Linked DNA regions of Homo sapiens: regions 1, 2, 4, 5, 6 and 7 are each linked to region 3. Evidence: promoter capture Hi-C in 16 types of primary human blood cells and fetal thymus (Javierre and others, 2016). All regions are on one chromosome and are shown on one strand. The core of a region is centred on a gene start or on the middle of the fragment in contact, and the rest is flanking DNA. Distances in the headings are between cores, read along the strand shown.

The links. The method cuts DNA at HindIII sites, captures the fragments that hold promoters and counts their contacts. A CHiCAGO score of 5 or more calls a contact.
Region 1: a fragment that was not itself captured here is called in contact with the fragment with the promoter of IFT70A in region 3 in 1 of 17 cell types (neutrophils); the score reaches 5.3 in neutrophils.
Region 2: a fragment that was not itself captured here is called in contact with the fragment with the promoter of IFT70A in region 3 in 2 of 17 cell types (total B cells and fetal thymus); the score reaches 6.9 in total B cells.
Region 4: a fragment that was not itself captured here is called in contact with the fragment with the promoter of IFT70A in region 3 in 1 of 17 cell types (neutrophils); the score reaches 5.7 in neutrophils.
Region 5: a contact is called between a fragment that was not itself captured here and the fragment with the promoter of IFT70A in region 3, in 1 of 17 cell types (monocytes). The highest score is 6.6, in monocytes.
Region 6: a fragment that was not itself captured here is called in contact with the fragment with the promoter of IFT70A in region 3 in 1 of 17 cell types (neutrophils); the score reaches 6.2 in neutrophils.
Region 7: a fragment that was not itself captured here is called in contact with the fragment with the promoter of IFT70A in region 3 in 1 of 17 cell types (neutrophils); the score reaches 5.1 in neutrophils.

The regions. Positions count from the first base shown.
Region 1 is chr2:177,297,071-177,300,324 of GRCh38, reverse strand. All of the region lies in intron 8 of LOC100130691 (Putative uncharacterized protein FLJ44553), which reads left to right. Among named protein-coding and RNA genes, the nearest start is that of MIR6512, 15 kb to the left of the region's middle. The HindIII fragment of the contact is 5,312 bases long and covers 1-3,254 here.
Region 2 is chr2:177,332,473-177,335,550 of GRCh38, reverse strand. LOC100130691 (Putative uncharacterized protein FLJ44553) reads left to right here. Exons shown (of 9, transcript NR_026966.1): 3 at 1,022-1,158. Among named protein-coding and RNA genes, the nearest start is that of MIR6512, 20 kb to the right of the region's middle. The HindIII fragment of the contact is 458 bases long and covers 1,456-1,913 here.
Region 3 is chr2:177,617,246-177,620,302 of GRCh38, reverse strand. It overlaps IFT70A (intraflagellar transport 70A), which reads left to right and starts at 1,561. Exons shown (of 1, transcript NM_152275.4): 1 at 1,561-3,057. The coding sequence starts at 1,602. It overlaps IFT70A-AS1 (IFT70A antisense RNA 1), which reads right to left. Exons shown (of 3, transcript NR_198966.1): 2 at 2,783-3,002; 3 at 1,065-2,015. RefSeq lists an enhancer at 1,259-1,488. The HindIII fragment of the contact is 8,599 bases long and covers 1-2,737 here.
Region 4 is chr2:177,140,428-177,143,369 of GRCh38, reverse strand. The region is part of intron 1 of LOC105373760 (a long non-coding RNA gene); the gene reads left to right. Among named protein-coding and RNA genes, the nearest start is that of MIR4444-1, 71 kb to the left of the region's middle. The HindIII fragment of the contact is 2,510 bases long and covers 204-2,713 here.
Region 5 is chr2:177,204,259-177,207,515 of GRCh38, reverse strand. No RefSeq gene overlaps it. Among named protein-coding and RNA genes, the nearest start is that of MIR4444-1, 6.8 kb to the left of the region's middle. RefSeq lists an enhancer at 2,365-3,257. The HindIII fragment of the contact is 6,068 bases long and covers 1-3,257 here.
Region 6 is chr2:177,355,006-177,358,177 of GRCh38, reverse strand. All of the region lies in intron 1 of LOC100130691 (Putative uncharacterized protein FLJ44553), which reads left to right. Among named protein-coding and RNA genes, the nearest start is that of AGPS, 36 kb to the left of the region's middle. The HindIII fragment of the contact is 2,050 bases long and covers 338-2,387 here.
Region 7 is chr2:177,269,980-177,273,321 of GRCh38, reverse strand. No RefSeq gene overlaps it. Among named protein-coding and RNA genes, the nearest start is that of NFE2L2, 6.9 kb to the right of the region's middle. The HindIII fragment of the contact is 3,167 bases long and covers 356-3,342 here.

The DNA of each region.
Region 1 (3,254 bases), core at 33-2,532, 320 kb after region 3:
TTTACAGAACATTTCGTCCAACAGCTATAGAATACACATTCTTCTCCTCAGCACATGGATCATTCTTGAGGATAGACCATATGTTAGGCCACAAAACAAGTCTTCAAAAAATTTTTTTTTTAAATTAAAATCAGGCCAGGCATGGTAGCTCACGCCTGTAATCCTAGTACCTTAGGAGGCTGAGGCGAGTGGATCACCTGTGACCTATTCATATAACGGACACTACATAACAAGGAGAATGAAGGAACTAAAACTTTGTGCAATCACATGTATGAATCTCACAAACATAATGGTGAGCAAAGTAAGCCAGGCACAAATGAGAACACATTATATGATTCCATTTATATAAAATTGAAAATCAGACAAAATAAATCAGTGATGTTGGAAGTCAGGATGGTGTTTACCTGTTGGGATGGTGGAGATAGTAGTGACCAAGAGGAAGGCACAAGAGCTACTTTTGGGTGGTAATATTGTTCTTTTCCTTGATCATACTCACATAGGTTACATAGGTGTTGATTTTGTGAAAATTCATTGAACTGTAAACTTACCTACTTTTCTGCATGCATGTTATCCTTAAAAAGTTTACTAAATTACCTGTACATCCTTATGATAGGAAATCTAGAAAATAGAAACTATATAGTGTTAAAAAACAGTTTTCAAAATAAGGAAACATTATGACTGTCATATATAAATATAAAATGAGCACATCAAAGATTTTATTTAACTCATTAATTAATGAGAAAACCAGTAAGGTGTTATAGCTGGTTCAAATGGATTTGATTTACAGAGATCTATATTACCTGCCAGACAAAATTTATTTGCATTGACATGAACAGGGATCATTTCCAGTTATAACAGGAAACATTTGCATTAATGTCAATTTTCTACATCTTCACCTCTTTCTCTACAGAGTTATAAATAGTCTAATCAAAGACTAGTCAAAGACAATGAAAGTAGAAATGAATGGATGCACTAATTAGGATACCCACTACATTTCAAAGGTTTTAACATTTTTACTTACAATAGAGTAAAATCAAAACAACCTGTAATCCTTCTATTCAGGAGTAATCTATATATACACAATTTTGTGCCATATTTTTAAATATTACATAAGAATTGTCTTATATCTAGAGCAAAATTACTTAAGTAAAATTTTTAGAAAACAACTTTTCATATTGAGTACAAAGGTTTTTTTCCCCTTTGTTCTAAAAATCCTCTGTTCACATTTCTGGTTATTTCCTTAACATATTTTCTTAGAAGGAAAAGTATTGGATCAAAAGATATGACCATTTTTAAGACTCTTGATACATATTGCCAAGTTGTTGTTGTGGTGGTTGTTGTTGTTGTTTTGTTTTTGAGACAGAGTCTCGCTCTGTCGCCCAGGCTGGAGTGCAGTGGCACAATCTCAGCTCACTGTAACCTTTGCCTCCGGTTTCAAGTGATTCTCCTGCCTCAACCTCCTGAGTAGCGGGACTACAGGTGTGTACCACCACGCCTGGCTAATTTTTGTATTTTAGTAGAGATGGGGTTTCACCATGTTGGCCATGGTCTAGAACTCCTGACCTCAAGTGATCCACCTGCCCAGCCTTCCAAAGTGCTGGGATTACAAGTGTGAGGCACTATGCCCAGCCTTATATTGCCAAGTATTATAGGAATACTTTGCAGCACATAATTAGGTTGGAGGGTGAGAGGAAGCAAAAATCTTTCTAAGCTACTTTCATACTCCCAGAATTACTCCTGTCCGTAAGATTTCCAGGAGTAAAACATGTTTATAGTTTTGCAACTACCCACCATCTGCCTTTTTCTCTTCCTTTGCTTTTGGACTTTGAGCAAAAACCCAGTACTTGCCTAAGGAAAAAGTGTGGGTTGGCACAGCAAACCACAAAAATCTCAAGTTCTAACCAAATTTAAGGCTGCAAGATGCCTCCCTGCACTGATGGCTTCATCTGTATTAGGTTATAAATCCCTTGAGGAATTTTCTAGGACCCAATTCTAGCCCTACTTCCCGTGTTTACACATATTTTCTGATCTGTTTTGCCAGTATTGATTTAAAATATTTTGACAGCCGGGCGTGGTGGCTCACGACTGTAATCCCAGCACTTTGGGAGGCTGAGTCAGGTGGATCACGAAGTCAGGAGATCAAGACCATCCTGGCTAACACGGTGAAACCCTCTCTCTGCTAAAAATACAAAAAATTAGCTGGGCATGGTGGCACACGCCTGTAGTCCCAGCTACTAGGGAGGCTGAGGCAGGAGAATCGCTCGAACCCAGGAGGCAGAGGTTGCAGTGAGCCAAGATAGCGCCACTGCACTCCAGCCTGGGCGACAGAATGAGACTGTCTCAAAAAATAAAATAAAATAAAATAAAATAAAATAAAATATTCTATAAGCCACATATATCTAACCATGAGACCCAACTTAATTCAACTATTCTATCAATTGCCTACTGAGTGCCAGGAACTGTGGTGTACTAGGCCTAGAGTAAGTCGTGAGCAAAACAGACTTTTTCCTGCTATAGGAGCAGAAAGGTGTAGTACCTTTCTTCATCCATCATAAGCGTTACAGTTGACACTCCTATAACAAAAGACAGATTAACAAGAGAAAAGCATAACAAATTTATTTAACCAAAGTTTTACATGAAATGGGAGCCTTTAGAAATGAATAGCCCCCCTCCCCCAAAAAAAAGAAATGAATACCCAAAGATGCAAGGAAAACTGTGTTTTTATGCTGAGGCTCGATGAAGAATGGACAGCCATGTAGAAATGTGACTGGACAAGAGAGTATGATCTTACTGTAATAGACTGAGGAGGAAACCCAGCAAGGCCTGCCTTTCTGTTTAGGTTCTTCTGGGTCTCTTTATGTAGCATTCCTTCCTCCTGAGTATGGGTAGGACCCCTCTGGAATGAGAGTCTCCAGGATAAAAGGGAAAGAATGACCCAGAGGTTTTATGGCTTGCTTTGCAGAAGAGTGGTCCTAGTGTCTAGGACCTGTCTTGGCATAGAGGAATTCTGATTTCTATCCTTGTTTTAGAGAAGAAAAAGAGACAAGAGACAGGAGAGCAGAAGAGGGTCAGAGAACACTTTATTCCGAGGTCCTTCCAGAGTCCTTCAGTTTAAAGTACTCAGCCAAGGGCCGATCATGGTATCTCACACCTGTAATCTCACTACTTTGAGAGGCTGAGGCGGGAAGATCACTTGAGGTCAGGAGTTTGAAATCAGCCTGACCAATATGGTGAAACCCTGTCTACTAAAACAC
Region 2 (3,078 bases), core at 435-2,934, 280 kb after region 3:
AAGCCTTGGCAATTTTATAGTTGTCTTCACATAGATTTGACATACTTATTAAGTTTATGTTTTTGTTATTCTGGTAATTACAATTTTTTCCACTTTGTTTTCCTTTAAAAGAGTTTCAAAGCCCCCCTTTTGGACCACAGAAAATCTTAACGTGTTATAACCTAACTATGCAAATAGCTCTGTGATTCTAATTTCTCTTTTAAGCAATATAAATCATTGAACTACATTCTTCCTATGTTTATCCAGCTTTCCTTACCAAATTAAATCTCATACTTTGTAGTGTAAATTTGAGTTTGAAAGTTAAAGGTAAAGAATGTTTTCCAGGGGACTAAAACAGGAAAAATACTGTCAACAGAATTGAATAAATTGGAAGATGGAGGCCACTGCGCTAGTACTACAGTGCCCCCTAGTGGAAAAAAGGAAGCATGGGCATGTTTATACCAAGAATGACCCCAGTCTCTCTTCCACAGGCAATTAGAATCTGGAGGTGTGTTAGTGGTCAACTAGGTCAACTCCTCTGGCTTCCAAAAAGGGAAACTGAGAAACAAAATGAAGAAATGACTGGCCCAAATTCACATTGTCAACCCAAGGCTTAAATCCAAGATTCCTAACTCTCATTTTTCTTCCTTTTTGCTACCCTTTCTTTTTTCTTCCTTCCTAGTTCAAAATATATTGTGCTCTTATTATAAAGCACAATATATTCTAGGAATGTGTTCTAGGAATACAGATATAAAGAAGATTTAGTCGTTGCCTTCAAATCTAGTTTTACTTCAAGCCTAATTTTTTTAGCCATTTTCAGGGAATGAATTTGTTGGGGAATGACCAAACAACTATGCAGGGGAAGGTTCTCAATCATCCACAAATTGACTCACAATATGATTAATTAATTATTGAGTTTTAACTGGAAAGTACAATCACAAATGTGAAAATTGCCCTTGATCAGATTCAGACCATTTCATGAGGAGGTAAGGCATACTTTCAAATGGCCTGCATTAACCTTAATCTTATTTCTCCTTTGCAGATTCAAAACTGTGGACTATCTTGCAAAAAATACAAGAAGATATTGAAAGTTTTCATGAGTGCCTACCACCTAATCTCAAACACTATCATTCATATGTGCCTCATTGAGCAAATCTTTAATGAGGATCTATATGCCAGGTATGTGCTAAGCTCTGTGCTTAGTGTGGCAAAGAGAACAGATATGGCCTTGAGGTTTCTGCTCTCACAAAGCTTATAGTCTCCTATTTGTGTATGTGTAATTCTCTAAAGCTCAGGAAAGCTGTTTTCCTCATTTTTCTTTGGCATCATATTTTTAGGCTATAGAAATCAGAAAGTACGCAAACATTTTCTAAAATTACTCTGCCCCACAAAAAGGGAAACAAAAATAACAATTTGGGGCCAGACAGAACTGGATTTGAATTCCAAGCCTGCCCTTTACAAGCTATTAAACAAGCTTATTCTCTGAGCCCCTGTTGTTTTCATGAAGTGGAAATAATATGTATCCCTTGTAAGGGATCATATCCTTATTAATACCTAAATAGAGACATTACTTTTTGAGTCAAAACTATGAATTATATGGTCCATCTCCTAAAATGCAGAAAAATTATCTAAAGAGAAGCATTATTAATATTGTTCACTTAGTTTCATCAAGAATGTCACTTTCCAGAATTAATACAGACAGATATTCTTTGCCATTGACTTTTTCTTTTTTTTTTTAAATAAGGTGAAATGCTCTAACAATGGATGCCACTATAACAGAGTTTCTGTAAGGCTATTAGTTTCTTTTTCCATGGATAGTTTCCATGGCCTTGCTCCACATAAACTAAACCCTATTATTTCAGTTATGATGACTAAATCTAGTATGACCATTATTTATCTGTATAAGGGATCTTGTAGTAATCTGTGTATAAGCTTATCACTCCATCTATTTAATGATTTGACTAAGTCAAGGATCATATTTTATTTCTCTCTGTTCTCCCCTCCCAGTGGTACCTTACACAGAATTAGAGCACACTAAATGTGTTCTGAGTAAAAAGACTATCTTACTATGTGCTGTTTGACATGTAAGCTGAGAGAGAAAATTTGGCATATGTTGTAGGTAAACTTACTTTGTTTTACCTGGGAGTAGCAAGTATCAAACAGATCCTACTCCTGTTACAATCCTGCTAGAGAAAAAAAGTAGTTAAATTCCCCAGTCTCTACTCAAACCAAAACAAAACTTCAAAAATATTGAGACACAGAGAGAAGGAATAGGATGGGGTCAGGGAGGACTGGTGTTTCTGCGTAGTGTGCATGCAGCAGGCTAATGTCCTTTCCCTGTTGTAATAGCTCCGAATGTAAGCGCCACACAACACCAGGTCTATGAAAAGCCCAGGGTTTCAAGGTCAAACAAGTTTGGGAAAGCTTGCCCAGCATTTTCCTCTCTTGCAAGCTGGCAGTGGACACTGGTAAATTAAAGCCTATAAAAACTGCTTAACATTGTTTTACCTTGCAATCCCCAAATTCATTTGACCAACGTTTCACCTATAAACATCCCGCAGATCTGGTAGATTCTGTGGAAGGCACAGACTTCAGGAAACTGCTCCACTGTGTTGAAAGGACTTCTTTCTCTTGTTAATTCACACACAAAAAGCTGCCATTTTATTTCCAAATCCTACAGAACTGGGAATGTGAGCATTTCCAGCAATGTTTCAACTGTAGAAAAGTGAGACCACTTTCTGACAATTTAGAGGTCCCAGAAAGTTTATACAATTGAATTTTAGGTATGTAAGGAGTCAGTTCGAATCCAGGAAATGGCTTCCCAGCAATGCCTGGAATGTCCTCACAAAAACTGAGAAACAGATATCCAAGTCCTGTTTTGGATCTTGGAGGGACAGAGAGAGAGAAGAGAAAAACATAAATTTATAGTCCCAAATCTCATGATGTTTCTTCCAGTTTTCTACAAATAAATACACAGTATCCACTTTCCCTGAACTCCATCTTGGGACTTTATTTTTGCGTGTTTCCAATTCTCCTCTCTAGATGGCAGCACAGATGAAAAAATGCCAGAAAAACAGCAGGCCAGACTCAGCGGCAGCA
Region 3 (3,057 bases), core at 312-2,811:
GGGAGAAGACTGAGTAAGTACATAAAGTCAGTCATATGATGATATGAGCAATCACACACCTACTAAAAATCTCCTTCCAGTGATACTGGGTAAATACGAACTACACAACTCCAGTAGTCACATCTGCTCACAGCTGGAATCAAGGCCTAGAAGTTCAAAGTTTACTAACTACACAAAGTTAGTTCATTGTTTTAATGGAGAAACAAAGACAATAATATTCCTTATACACACTTAGCACCAAACAATGGGCCCTTACAAACTCACGTACATGAGATACATGGATTGGGTTATTCATCAGTCACTATTTCCTATTGAAATTGGTTATTGGATATCATGGTTCAGCCCCTACCTACCTAGATGTGGCTTTAAACAAACTATTAATTTAATAGTTTGATTTAATTAATGTAATACTTAAATCTTTAAACCTTTCTAGCCCACAGACTTCTTAAACTACAATATGCAGAATGCAGGCTGCTTATTCAAATTAGAAATACTATATGTAAACAGTCTCTAATAGAGGTGCTATATGATATGGTTGACATCGTTATCAACCGTATGATAGCTGTGAAGTTTATATACAGAAAAGATTTATGGGCAGTAACACTATTATGGATGCATACAAAGGATTTGCAGTAATTATGTAGCAAACAACACACTTTTACTTGGATTAGGTTTATATTAGGTGCTAGAGAGACCAATGGATATCATGGGAGATGACAAAAGATACTGATTTCTTATTGGCAGAGACAGTTGGAGGACCACAGCAATGGATACAACCAAGTGTAAACGCCAACATATACTCAGTAATTTTTTTTTTGTCATGGAAAAGGAGAGATACTGCGATCAAAAACAGATCCTCTCCCAGTACCAATTAAGATTCACAGCACTTTTTCCTTATTAACCTCTGGAAACCACCAAAATAAGAAGGATTTCTGTTTGCTGCTGTATTCTGTTCTTACAAACTGTGCCCTCGGGGTAGCATAAGAACCTGCTCTAATTCCAAGGGAATTCAAGGAGTTAACTCCCTTTTGCCATCCCGCTCCTTTTATTAAAAGGTCCTTTTATTGTACTGACGATCTCTACTTTATTAAAAGTAAGCCAAACGCCAGCATTAGTATAGACCACACCAATGCACAAGGCTCAAAATCGCCAGAACATGGTGCCGGAAATCTTCCTCCGATTCGCTAGAGACCGAGGTGGCACAACAGACACAGAGAGTGCCCCTCATCTTTAGGGGGCAGGGAAGGCGAGTGACCGTGCGTCCACACGGGCCGCGAGTCGGGTCGGTGCAACAGGGACTACGCCTCCCAGCATGCAGTGCGGCCACGCCTGCGCAGCGGCGCCACAGGAACGATGCATGCCGGGACCGGGAAGATTCAGTCTCTGAACGGCCCGGAGTAGTCGTCTTTCCCCTTCTGACTGCCGCCACGCTGCAGTCCAGAATATTTGAAGATCAAACCGAACTTGAGAGACTAACGAGAACGGTCCCTTTTTATTCCTAACAGATTCCTTCCGTGGCAAAGTAACCCGTCGTCTTCCGTTTCCGGTTGCCCGGTTGCCCTGTTGCCGTGGTAACCGCACGCATAACAGCCGTGGTGGTTATGGCTGGTCTGAGCGGCGCGCAGATCCCCGACGGGGAGTTTACCGCGCTAGTGTACCGGCTCATCCGCGATGCCCGCTACGCCGAGGCGGTGCAGCTGCTGGGCCGAGAACTGCAGCGGAGCCCCAGGAGCCGTGCCGGCCTGTCGCTGCTAGGCTACTGCTACTACCGCCTGCAGGAGTTCGCGCTGGCGGCCGAGTGCTATGAGCAGCTGGGCCAGCTGCACCCGGAACTGGAGCAGTACCGCCTGTACCAGGCCCAGGCCCTGTACAAGGCCTGCCTTTATCCGGAGGCCACTCGGGTCGCCTTCCTTCTCCTGGATAACCCCGCCTACCACAGCCGGGTCCTCCGCCTGCAAGCTGCCATCAAGTATAGCGAGGGCGATCTGCCAGGGTCCAGGAGCCTGGTGGAGCAGCTGCTGAGTGGGGAAGGGGGAGAAGAAAGTGGAGGCGACAATGAGACCGATGGCCAGGTCAACCTGGGTTGTTTGCTCTACAAGGAGGGACAGTATGAAGCTGCATGCTCCAAGTTTTCTGCCACACTGCAGGCCTCGGGCTACCAGCCTGACCTTTCCTACAACCTGGCTTTGGCCTATTACAGCAGCCGACAGTATGCCTCAGCACTGAAGCATATCGCTGAGATTATTGAGCGTGGCATCCGCCAGCATCCTGAGCTAGGTGTGGGCATGACCACCGAGGGCTTTGATGTTCGCAGTGTTGGCAACACCTTAGTTCTCCATCAGACTGCTCTGGTGGAAGCCTTCAACCTTAAGGCAGCCATAGAATACCAACTGAGAAACTATGAGGTAGCTCAAGAAACCCTCACCGACATGCCACCCAGGGCAGAGGAAGAGTTGGACCCTGTGACCCTGCACAACCAGGCACTAATGAACATGGATGCCAGGCCTACAGAAGGGTTTGAAAAGCTACAGTTTTTGCTCCAACAGAATCCCTTTCCTCCAGAGACTTTTGGCAACCTGTTGCTGCTCTACTGTAAATATGAGTATTTTGACCTGGCAGCAGATGTCCTGGCAGAAAATGCCCATTTGACGTATAAGTTCCTCACACCCTATCTCTATGACTTCTTAGATGCCCTGATCACTTGCCAGACAGCTCCTGAAGAGGCTTTCATTAAGCTTGATGGGCTAGCAGGGATGCTGACTGAGCAGCTTCGGAGACTCACCAAGCAAGTACAGGAAGCAAGACACAACAGAGATGATGAAGCTATCAAAAAGGCAGTGAATGAATATGATGAAACCATGGAGAAATACATTCCTGTGTTGATGGCTCAGGCAAAAATCTACTGGAATCTTGAAAATTATCCAATGGTGGAAAAGGTCTTCCGCAAATCTGTGGAATTCTGTAACGACCATGATGTGTGGAAGTTGAATGTGGCTCATGTTCTGTTCATGCAGGAAAACAAATACAAAGAAGCCATTGGTTTCTATGAACCCATAG
Region 4 (2,942 bases), core at 209-2,708, 480 kb after region 3:
TTCACCTAAATGTTGAGCACAACCTTGGCATTTCTACTGACGTGAGTTGAAGTATTACCTAAATTACATTATGTTTGATGTTACAGTCTGAACCATTTAGTGTATAAAGGTGGGTCTACAATCAATAATCACAAATGTTAAAGCTTTATTTTAGATACAATAAAACATTTATTTCTAAGATGTTAAAAAAAAACCCATAAGCTTCTTACCATAATGTCAATTGCCAATAGATTGATAAGATCTTTCTGCATTTTGACTGCAGGAAATTTTATGGCTAGAATCTTACAATTTACACAACTTACAGTCTTTTTAGGTTATATTTCACATATAAGAAAGTATTTTTTAGGTCTGCCTAGAAATGTTGTAATTTGATATTAAGTTATAGCTTAGATTTTCAACAAAAACAGCAGCTGTAATAGATGAGATTAGCAAGTGGTGAAAAGTTCAAAGCATTTAATGGAATTGATCTACTAAATTAGCATTGACAATTTTTAGTGGCTATCTTAAATATACATTATTATCATGAAAGAATTAGTCCAATTAAGCCTTTACATTTGGAAGATGCCCAGTCTGACCTTGTTCTACTCAATGTGAAAAGTGAGAGGGTCTTTGGGTTTATTTAAATTTGGTGTTAAATCAATTGGTTTGGGGGACCTTTTACTCCTTTTTGGAATGGAAGAAAAACTCAAAGGCTATTTATAGTGACAAATGGGTTATTAGAACAGTTAATATATTATATTATAATTTATAATTATAAATTATAATTAATATAATATATAACAGTTTTTATATTGCAAATAAAAAATGATGACCAGGAGTTGCTCTGAACCTATTCTGGTTTAGGGAGCTGCCCAGCTAAAAAAAAAAGAAAAAATAATGATTGAAGAATAGAACAAAATAATATTTGATACATAGGTGAGAATCAATTAGAGTGGGATTCTTTTCTCACAATTTCTTACTAAAGCCATATTTACTGGGTATACTGGATGTATTTTGGAACTGAAATAATTATATTGTATTTAATATCAGGTTTTATTTAGAACACTCTCAATTAAGAAATAACCAGCTAATAAAAAAATAGAAATCTATGCAAATATACATGAAGAAATAAGTATGGGATTTTCCAGAAATCTAATTTCTATACATCAATAGTATATTTTATATTCTGTTGATACAGACTTCTATGATAACTTGAACATAAATATCATGAAAATAAAATTGAGTTTTGAATTGTCAGTTTAATTGTGCAAACTCTCTGATGATGGCTGGTTACTCATTTATCATGAAATTGTGGAGTCTTGGCTCTTACGTAAGGGGCTTGGTTGAAAGGCCAGCTTCTTAATTCACAGCGGCTTATACGTGAGTCTTCATTGGAGCTCAGGAGCTAGCTCTTTTGTGAAAGCATTTAGTAAAATATATTTTAGTTGAGGTTTTTTTTTTTTTTCTGTTGTTATCCATTCCAATATTTAATGGTCCATTTCCCTAATCTGGGCTTCTAACCCAGACACTTTTGGACATTTTTAATAGAAAAAGATGTCTTTTGCGTAAGATTTCTTCAAAAAGAAAATTGTAACTAATTTACCCCCCAGCTTTCTCTTCTATAAACGGAAAAATCCAATTCTCATTTATCAACTCCCCACCTTTTTAAGTTCTCCTCTGAATGCTCAGCAAATTATTCATATCCATCTTTAAATATAGCACTCTGAGGGGAGTTTAGTGCTTTATTAAGGTATCTGAGGAAGATGGGAGATGATCTCATTTATTCCTGAGGATGTATTGAAAAATCCTCTCTCTGCCAGACTCTGCTAGGTGCTGGGAATACAGTAAGATTTAACAAAAACCTTGAGGGAGAGAAAGATTTGCCAACAAGTAATGGCAATACAACATGTTAAGTGCTAACATGGGTGTAGACAACATGCATTTGTCTGTCAGTCCTAATTCGGTATTCATTGTCAAAACAGTATTTTAAACTGCTACAGCAATGCCTACTGACAGTCATATTTCTATGCAAACAATTTCTAATTAGCTCCTGTAATTCAGGTGTGTACTTTGAACACATTTTTCCATACTACGTTTAATCTACATTTTGTTTCTTATTTGTACAATTTTATCTTAAATTGTTATTTTACCTTCTAAATTTCATTTTTTGGCCTCTTCTGTCTGTTATTCGGGTTGATATCAAAAACACCATTTGTCGTCTCCTCAATTTGAATGCTTTAGTTAGAACTCCCCAGCCAATCTATAGTTAATGAATCAACAGTTGTCTGTTCCTGGTCTATTTTCCTAGCATGCCTTGTAGGAGAGAATCAAAAGCCTTCCTAAAGTCCAGCTTAGGGTTCATCAGTTAATTTTCTGTGATCCATCAGGCCTTCCACTCTGCTATGTAATAGGATGACTGTCTATTATCTACATAGGACAAGTTCTTTGTGAAGCTATATTGATTATTAATGATTGTGTAATTAGGTACGCTCTCAAGAGTTCTGGTTATTTTGGTCCTTTTTTGAATCTCTAGGCATCTACTCAGTTCTCTGAATATTACACAAAGGTAGGGACAATAATTTTGTACCACTCATTCAGTGTTGTCAAATGGAAACAAATCAGAGCTGGGGCTATCAGAAAAGAAGTGGGCAAGTCATGCATCCTGGTCATCGTCTATCACATGTCAGCATTAGCTTCTGCATAGTGCAGCACTGATCATGGCATGATGCAAGCTTTATTTGGTCACCATGGACAAGTATTCCCCTTTTATTGATTTGTAATACACCATTAAGCTTCATTGTAATAAAATTGGACATGATAGATAGCAAAATGATAAAAACCACCTGTAATTCCCCTAACTAGAGACTAGCATTGTTAGCAGTTTGGTTTACACATGCACGTTGGTGTATGTGGATGTGTGTGTGTAAAATGTGTATAATAAACATACATACTGTTTTGCATCA
Region 5 (3,257 bases), core at 667-3,166, 410 kb after region 3:
GTGCCGTGTTCAAAAATTATTAAGAATTTCAAGACATGACATCAAAGTATTAAGCCAAGCCAGGACCCTTATAAGTGCTGGACTCTGTGCAACTGCAAAGGTCATATGCCCGTGAAGTCTGCACAGTGCCCAGTACAGTGCCCTGTCTAGAGCAGGTACCTGGTCTCTTTTCAGAAATTTATTCACTTGCCATCTTGTATTTACTTCCACTTTCTTGTCAGCACTCATTTCTAAAGTGTTCCTAATCTAGTTTCTGTCACAGGCTGCCACTCATTTCTTAAGTGTTCCTAGTTTCTGCCACAGGCTATCGAAATTGTTTTTCCAAGGTCACAAATGATTATCTGTCAAATTAATATCCCTATTCTTAAATGTTAATCCTTCCTGACCTAGGGATCAACATTACTGCCTGTTCATCCTTTTTTTTTTTTTTTTTTTTTGAGACAGAGTCTTGCTCTGTTGCCCACGCTGGAGTGCAGTGGCACGATCTTGGCTCACTGCAACCTCTGCCTACTGGATTCAAGCGATTCTTCTGCCTTGGCATCCCAAGTAGCTGGGATTACAGGCATGTACCACCACACCTGGCTAATTTTTATATATTTTTATTTGTTATTTTTTGAGTTGGAGTTTTGCTCTCGTTGCCCAGGCTGGATTGCAGTGGCGCGATCTCGGCTCACTGCAACCTCCGCCTCCCAGGTTCAAGTGATTCTCCTGCCTCAGCCTCCTGAGTAGCTGGGATTACAGGCACACGCCACCATGCCCAGCTAATTTTTTGTATTTTTAGTAGAGACAAGATTTCATCATGTTGGCCAGGCTAGTCTCAAAACTCCTGACCTCAGGTGATCCACCTGCCTCAGCCTGCCAAAGTGCAGGAATTACAGGTGTGAGCCACCACACCCGGCCCTGTTGCTTCTTTTTGATGTTTTCCTTTTTTGTCTTTATTAAGGACATTGGTTTTTCCCTTTAGTTCATCACTGCTTCCTTCTGGATCCTTCCCTTTTTCGTTTTCTCTCTCCTCTTGTTTCCATAAGGTTTTGTCACACTGAGGTATAGAACTTCCTGAGAAACTTTGTGAAATGCACCCATTGTTCTCCTACGAGTGGCCACTTTCCCTGGGAAAAGTATGAGGTGGTGTAAGTGCGTGAGAACTCTCAGGGGATTTGTACATGCCTCCTAGGAAGCTAAAGAAGAGGTTAGGCCTGATTAGTGTATTTGTTAAGATGACAAGATATATCACTTCCTTCTCCCAACACACACACACACACACACACACACACACACACACACACACACACACCACAGTTGAATGATTTAGAGATTGAGGAGGTAATTTGATACAAAAAGTATTAAGGAGTCATTCACAGGGACTTACGTTCTCTTTCAGACAAATCCCAATTTGGAAGTCTGAAAAGGCTGAAATCTTTTTAGTAGGTGCTTTACAAATGACTTTCACATAAAACTTTGATTAAATTAATTAGTTACACTTTTCTCTTACTAACTTGTCTTCTGTTATAAGAGTGTTGGCCATGACCCTTACAATGGGTAAGGAAAGGTGTCACACCTCCACTTTTTTCCCCATAAAATTGACCTTTTGAAGAGATCAGGACAAATGAATTTGTAGGATGCTTTACATTTTGGGTTTATTTGATTGTTTTCTGCAGGTGCGATTTAACTAGATTCTCTGTCTCCTTCATTTCCTATAAATTGGAAGGTTAAATCCAAACTCTTATTAACTTCAAATTAATCAGGTTGAGCAAGAGTATATCAGAGGTGATGATGTGTAGTTTAGATTGTTGTGTCACATTACGCGGCACACAATATCAGATTGTCCCGCTATTTGTGATGTTAAATTTCATCAAAGTGGTAAAACCCTCCTTTGTAATGAGAAGGTCATCTCTGAGGTGGTACTTTGGTCCCATGCAAATATTGGACCCCAAAACAACCTTTCCCATTATGTGTTAGCATTTTTGATCACCCTTGACTGAATTATTATTTCATTGGGGATGACAGAATGATGACTTTTCTAATTATATCATTTCTTCTACATTTATTAGCTAGCATTTGTAAACACACACACACACACACACACACACACACACACACACACACAAAATGTCTCTTCACCAACTGGGAATGAACTACAATTCCTCCTTAAAAGACAGGGTAGGTACTTTAATTACCAATTTTCAGAATAAGAAGTTAGTATAACAGTCACCTTCAAAGGTGGCAAATTATCTTTTTTCTCTCTCTCTCTTTGAGTATCACTATAGATTCATGGGTTTTTATTTATTCACTGTTTTATAATCAATTGCAGTCATTATTCCTTTTGATATTTAAATTGCCCCAAATTTGGCCTCTATGTCCTTTTGAGTTCTCTGTCAGGTGCATATGAATTTTATTAATCAAAACAAACTCTATATGGTGGAATTTAGGCAACATTTGGAAGAGATTTGGGGATGAGGAAAGGGACAGAGTGGCCTCTAAATAGGTAGGCTATCACTGCCAGCAAGATTGTCCTTGGAGTCAGCCATCGTAGGCACATCTCGACCTGGGAGTCTTTTCTTCCTTCACATTTAAGCCCCAGATTTACAAAAAAGCTCCATTGTTTTCTGTAATTAATTGGCAGTGAGAGACCAAAATTACTGTATGAATGTTTGGCTCATTTGTAAATTAAGGCCTGCTTATCTGTGTAGGAATGGTGAAGATAACTGTAACCCAAATGTAATTCATTAAAGGGAAATACTCATCAGTAGCAATATCGGATATTAAATGAGGAAAATATGTTAGTATGTAGTGACATGAGACTTCTGACTGAGATGTGAGCAAGAAAACAGATCCACGGGACCCTCCACACACAGAAACTGAGCTGTTCTGTGCCTTGTTCGTTTGTGTCCTGCTGAGTTCACATTAACAAATGAATCCCAGAATCTTAGCTCTCCCTGGGAGATCTATGTCTTAAGAAAATTTCTTGTGACAATAATACCTTAACCCAAAGCAAACATTTTCAAATGGTGGGAATAAGAGTCAGTGAAGCAAGTCAGTGGAAGAATTTGATTTTGGACAGAAACTCTTTCAGCAAGTCACACCATGATAGCTCCTTCCAATTCTGCTGTACAGATCTCTGGCCCAGGCTGCAATCTTACAGCTATATGGCTGTAAACAAGGTAGAATGTAGAGATTAAATTACCTGAGCGACAGTTAGGAAATCTCCTTTCTTGTGGAAGCAAGGACTAATGCTTTCATATTGTTGTGAGTCTAGT
Region 6 (3,172 bases), core at 113-2,612, 260 kb after region 3:
TCTAGTAGGTTTTGCAATTTAGAAATGAAAATTTAGGTAAAATTTTATGATATCCCTGAAATAGACCCTGAAGTTTAGAAGAAGATAATTTTCAAATTCTTGGCCTAATGAAGTGGACAAAATGCTACCAAAGTTCCTCAGACTCTGAAATTCTGTAATTTATTGTCACCAAAAGTCAAATGCCTAGACCAGTGTTGATCATTCTCATGCTGAGAGTAATTAGTGAATTTGTTCAGGGTCTGGGGGGACCCCAATTTCAAAGCAAATGGAAACCAGAGATGGTTGTTCTGTCAATCCAATTGTCACTTTATAGTCCCTAAATACCAAAGGCTAAGCTTTGGCAAAGTTGGGCAGTAAAAATCTACCCTTACTGCAAATCTTTCTCCTTTTGATCCTTCTCTCCCCAATCAGTTCTATTTCAATCCAGAAAGTCAGCAACTTTGAACTTTCTCTTCCGTCTGTGAAAACCTATTGGTAAGTGGTAGATATTTACAGCTTAGTAAATACATAAGTGTTTCTAAATATCTAAGTGTTTCTCCCAAGGATATTTATGTTAAAGTTTTATATCTAATTTTCTAATAAAAGTTTTTTCTCCCTATTGAGGGAATTGTTTTCCATTTATATAAAATTATTTTAAAATTATTTGTATAAATTTAAGGGGTACAAGTGAAGTTTTGCTAACATGGATACACTACCTCCTGGGGAGGTCTGGACTTTTAGTGGAACCCTCACTGGAATAATGTTACAATGTACCCATTACGTAATTTCTCATCCTTCTTCCCCTCCCCTCCCACCCTTCTGAGTCTCCATTGTCTATTCCACACTCTAAGTTCATGTGTACACACACTACTTAGCTCCCACTTATATGTGAGAATTTTATGTTTCACGATGAGTAGGTGGAGAAGATGTATTTAGGGAGTAAGACAGAGGACTTTCTTAGGTTCCCTAAATTCATACGAGATATGGGGAACCTTTGTCCAAGAGTATTTTCAAATTCTGGAACAATGAGGATTATGTCTTTAATATGGGCCTTTCCCCAAACACCACTAATAAGGACCTCTTCCTCCCTCTACTTGGAGCTACATTTGAACATAGTTTTTAACAAGTTACAAAAACACTACCCCCAGTTACTACAAGCCCTGAATGAAATGTAATAGCCAAGAATCCTTTTAAGGATTGGGTGCTGGGATTGTTTGCTTTCTCTTCTCTCTTTTCTTTTCTTTTCTTTTTTTTCCTTCGACAGGGTCTTGCACTGATGCCCAGGCTGGAGCCCAGAGCACAGTGGCCTGTTACCAGCTCTCTGCAACCTCTGCCTCCTGAGCTCAAGCAATCCTGCCTGAGTAGTTAGGACCACAGACATATGCCACCATGCCCAGCTAATTTTTATATTTTTTGTAGTGATGGTGTTTCACCATGTTGCCCAGGCTGGTCTCAAACTCCTGAGCTCAAGTGATCCGCCTGCCTTGGCCTCCCAAAGTGCTGCGATTACAGGTATTAACCATGTCCGGCCTTGCTTTGTTTCTGGTTTATAGTGAGACTGAAAAAATTTAAGGAAGGTATCTCAATTTAAATGAATTACTAATTGAATGAGTGATACATTTACAGATAAATGATTCTTCTACATCAATGCTGTCCAGCAGAACTTCTATGATGATAGAAATGTCCTATAACTGTGCTGTCTAGTGGGTAACCACTAGCCCCATGTGCACTAGAAAAATGGCACTTGAAAGTCAGAAACTGAATTTTTAATTTTTATTAGCTTTAATTAATTTAAATCTAAATAGCTATATGTGGATAATGGACATCATATTAGTTAACACAGTTCTAGATGATTCTGTGCAGAGGCTGGTTGGTTGCCAAATATATTATTCTGACCCTGACAAGGGAACCCCATCCAAGTAGAGTGATTCACCTTTTTAATCTCAGGTCTATTATATTAGTTATCAAGACCAAGGCTATTGCTATTAACAAATGAGAAAATCTATAGAATTGCCATGGAAACCCTATTGGAGAAACACAGGTTTCCATGTCAACCCCTGTCTAGGATACCGCTACAAAATGCCCTATAAGCAAAAACTTCTGAAACCACAATGTTTTCTGACTAATGGAATTAGGAGACTGCGACTTTTGTCCATTGTTCTTAGGCAAGGCATTTGGGGCCCTTCCAAGAAGTAGTCTGAATATCTGTTATAAGGAAAGAAAATGATACAGTGTCTAAAGGCCCTTGACTGAAAAATTTGTTTTTTGATAAATATGTTTTTATCTAAAGGCTCTTTGTCAGAAATCCTTCCTTGGGATTATGCTTGCTGACTTTTCTGATATGTTTCTATTAAGAAAAAAAAAAAGAAAGAAAAGGAAAGAAAAAGCAGAAAAGATGAAAGAAAGCTTCCCATCAGTGTTTCAAATAAAGAAGTTTATGATGAGATGTTACCATTGACCCTTAATTTCTGCCCCGTTTGAAACACTAAGGGAGTCCAACCATTGTCCATGCCCCTTTTGGAATGGTTGTGATTTCCAGGGCCTTGGTTAACTATTACTCCTAGCCCAAATCCTGGTGAGCTCCACTAGCTGCAGAGGCCACCATTTGCAAGAGCAGATATGCAGAAGATCCCTGGCCAGCCTCCTCATACCTACCTTCATTGCTATGTGGAGACAATAGAATCATTAAAAGTTATGGGCTGGACATGGTGGCTAACACCTGTAATCCCAGCACTTTGGGAGACCGAGATGGATGGATCGCTTGAGTACAGCAGTTTGAGACCAGCCTGGGCAACATGATGAAACCCTGTCTCTACAAAAAAAAAAAAAAAAAAAAAATTAGCCAGCCTTCATGGCACATGCCTGTGGTCCCAGCTACTCAGGAGGCTGAGGTGGGAGGATCACCTGCGCCTGACAGGTCAGGGCTGCAGTGAGCCAAGATTGCACCACTGCACTCCAGCCTGACAGAGTAAGACAATATATCAAAAAAAAATTTTTTTCATAGACCAATGGAACACAATACAGAACCCAGAAATAAACTCAAATACTTACGGGCAACTGATCTTTGACAGAGCAAAGAAAAACATAAAGTGGGGAAAGGACACCCTTTTCAACAAATGGTGCTGTGATAATTGGCTAGCCACATGTAGGAGAATAAAAGTGGAACCTCATCTCTCACCTTATACAAAAGTCA
Region 7 (3,342 bases), core at 690-3,189, 350 kb after region 3:
CTAGACTGGGCAAACTTTAGCAAGAAATGTCTCCATATATAGTGTACAAAAAAATCTCCCTCTAGTTTATGAATCCGTGTTGTCACAAAACATTTATTTATTCAGTGTTTAGAGCTTTTTTAAAAATAAAAAATAAAAAAACTACAGTGACCTTATTAGGTTAGGTAATAGATATTTTAACCAATTTGATTTAAATTGTTAATGGTGTCGTCTAGGAATTTAGGGGAGAACAGTCAAGAAAAAGAAAGAAACAGGTAATAGTTGTTGCATCTCAATGCAGTTCAGAAAACATGAGTAGGTCCACCAGCGTGTGGTAGCAGAGGAAATTCTCAGGCACCAGTTGAAAGTAAAAGCTTGGTATTTTATAGTTTCCTTTTGTAAGAACTCAAGTTTTTGTTGAGTTGCATATTTTATATTTTCTGGAATTTTGGTGTCATTTTATCCATAGTTAATAATATTGTTTCACCATAACTCCTCTTTGATTATGTAACCAGCAAAGTTTCTAACAATAAAGCATATTTTAGGGGTACATACCTTCCTCTCAGTCAATGTATAGAAAGTATTACATTATGTATTAAAACCTCAGTGCCATGACAAGATAGTCAACATCTTTAGTCATCAGAAAAATACAAATCATAACTACAATTGTGTGTGTGTACTTATCAAATTGTGTACTTTATATATATGTAATTTATTTTATATCAATTAGACCTCATTAAAGCTATTTTTAAAATATTATGTGAATTTTGCAGAAAATGAAAAGAGAAACCCCTGACCTCAGCTATCAGGTTGGCTACATTAACTGCCTGCCTCTTTTGCATCATCAGCTACTTCCTGGCTATGGGCAAGTGTGATGTTTTTTTACTGGACTGTAAGGACCTTCAGAGTAGAATCCATGTTTAACTCAACTGAGTCTTCCTTCAAACTCTCTCACTAAGTATTCAACTGTTGTTTTTTAAATGAAACATAAATTGCTTGGATAGTTTTTGGTGAAACATTTCAGAAAACATTTCTACCTAAATTCCCTAATGAACCTTTACGATTTTTTGAACTATGCATGGGAGGCAGCATATCTTCATGCTTAAGAACTTTAAAGTCAGTGATTTGTTCAGCTACTTACTAACCACCTGACCATAGATAAAATTATCTCACCTCTCCAGGCCTCAGTTTGCTCATTTCTAAAATGGGACTGTAAAGGACCTGTCTTGGATTTTCTGAGAGGATTAAATGATATAACCCATATAAAGTACATGGGCCATATTTAGCACTCAATAAATACTTGTTGTTTTTGTTGTGTTGTTATTGCTTTCCATATCCCTAATATATTGTAGAGAAATAAAGAATCTAAAAATTCGGGTTATTATGCATAGTAAGCATACAAGAACTGTTAGCAGGGAAAAAGACAAGTGAATTAATACACTGACCGTTACAAATTTTTGAAAGTTTACGAACTCCAAAGACTGAAATATTCCATCTTTCATCAGGAGAAAGAAAACGTGATGAACAAGTTACCTGAATCTTACAGGAGGGATAGCTCTAAACTGACATTAAAGTTACCTGCATATTAGGCTTTTTAGAATCACACAATTAGAGAAATTTAATTTATTGGAAGAAGCAAAAGGGTTTTAACACCTTATAGTCTTCTCAGTACATTTTGATTCTTGCTCTTAGACCTTTTCATTAAATAAGAAAAATTAAAAACCTGCTGGTACGTAGAGAGGCTAAAGTTGCAAACAGCTCATTTACTTTCTCCCTACCCTTCACACTGAAGTTCTTAAATGCAGAAATCCTGTTCTCCTATTTGTTTGCAAGTTTTCTCTCTAGTGAAAAATACTTCATCATTTTGTCCTTGGGGAATTCATTAAACAGAATGTGGAAAAATGTAATCTTTAGGGAGTTTTGCTGTGAGTACTCTCAGTAAATACAGCACAAGCCAAGAGACTCTACAGAGACCTGACCTAGAGTAGACGAAGCCTGGGCCATTGTCAGATAATCATTTCCTTGAGCTTTGAGGCAGTCACTTAATTGTTTTGTCACCTCTGATTTTTGTAATATTGGGCCTAATTGCATCTCCCTGATTTGTGGGGAGTGTTTATAAAATATGTACAATAATTATTATCATTAATAAACTGGATTATTAATCCCCTCCAAAAATAATGTGCCAACATGTCAATAAAATTTACACCTTATCCTTTAAGTCTGGCCCAGTACTAGATTTGCCTTTAAAAGTCCAAGTCAGCCGGGCGCCATGGCTCACGACTGTAATCCCAACACTTTGGGAGGCTGAGGCAGGTGGATCACCTGAGGTCAGGAGTTCGAGACCAGCCTGGCCAACATGGTGAAACCCCGTCTCTACTAAAAAATACAAAAATTAACTGGCATGGTGGTTCATGCCTGTAATCCCAGCTACTGGGGGGCTGAGGCACGAGTGTCGCTTGAACCTGGGAGGTGGAGGTTGCAGTGAACCGAGATCATGCCACTGCACTCCAGCCTGGGCAACAGAGTGAGACTCTGTATCAAAAAAAAAAATTCCAAATCAATTTGTTGTATGCGAAGAACATAATACCATGAGTCAGGAAATGTTATTCTATTTCTGGTTCTGCCAGTAGTTACCTCTGTGGTCATTAGTAACCACTTCACTCTTCAGTTTCCTCAAATGTAAAAGTAGGAATTTGGACTATATCAAGGAAGAAACATACCTGATATGTGCCACCACTCATAATTCTGTGCCCATGGCAGACATTGTTAATCAATCATTGAACTTTTTCTACCAAATTGGGAAGCTGTTTTTGAATACTTTTCAGCAAAGCACTGTAGGCAGCCACTACCAATGTATCAGAATTGGCAATCAAAGTGAAATTTGCTTCCCATCTCCGGGCCAGAAGACGTCTAAGGTTTTTTTTTAATTCTAATATTACTCAAAGGGCAAAATGAGAGTCCATGGAATAGAAAGTGTCAGGAGACAATTATGTTGGCAAATCTCATTTCCCTTTTTTATTTTCCAGCCTCCAAGAATGTTATAGATTATCTGTAAGGTCTGTTTATGAGGATGCTCTGCTCTTCCATTCGTTGTAGTCTGCTTTTTGTTTGTTCAAAGTGGAAATAGTTTAATTGTTTTTATCCCTTAATTCTAAAAATGCTTTCTGTAAGGATTTGAATAATACAGAAAAATACAAAGATGGAAATGAAAATTATCTGATATTCTACTCCCATTATTAATATTTGAGAACTGTCCTTGAAGACATAGCTCTAGGCATAATGTTTTTCTGTATTTTATTTTCCCCACAAAGCGATGTTACGTTTGGGCTACTTTGCCTGTTACTGAGAGGCTGCAGTTCTTAA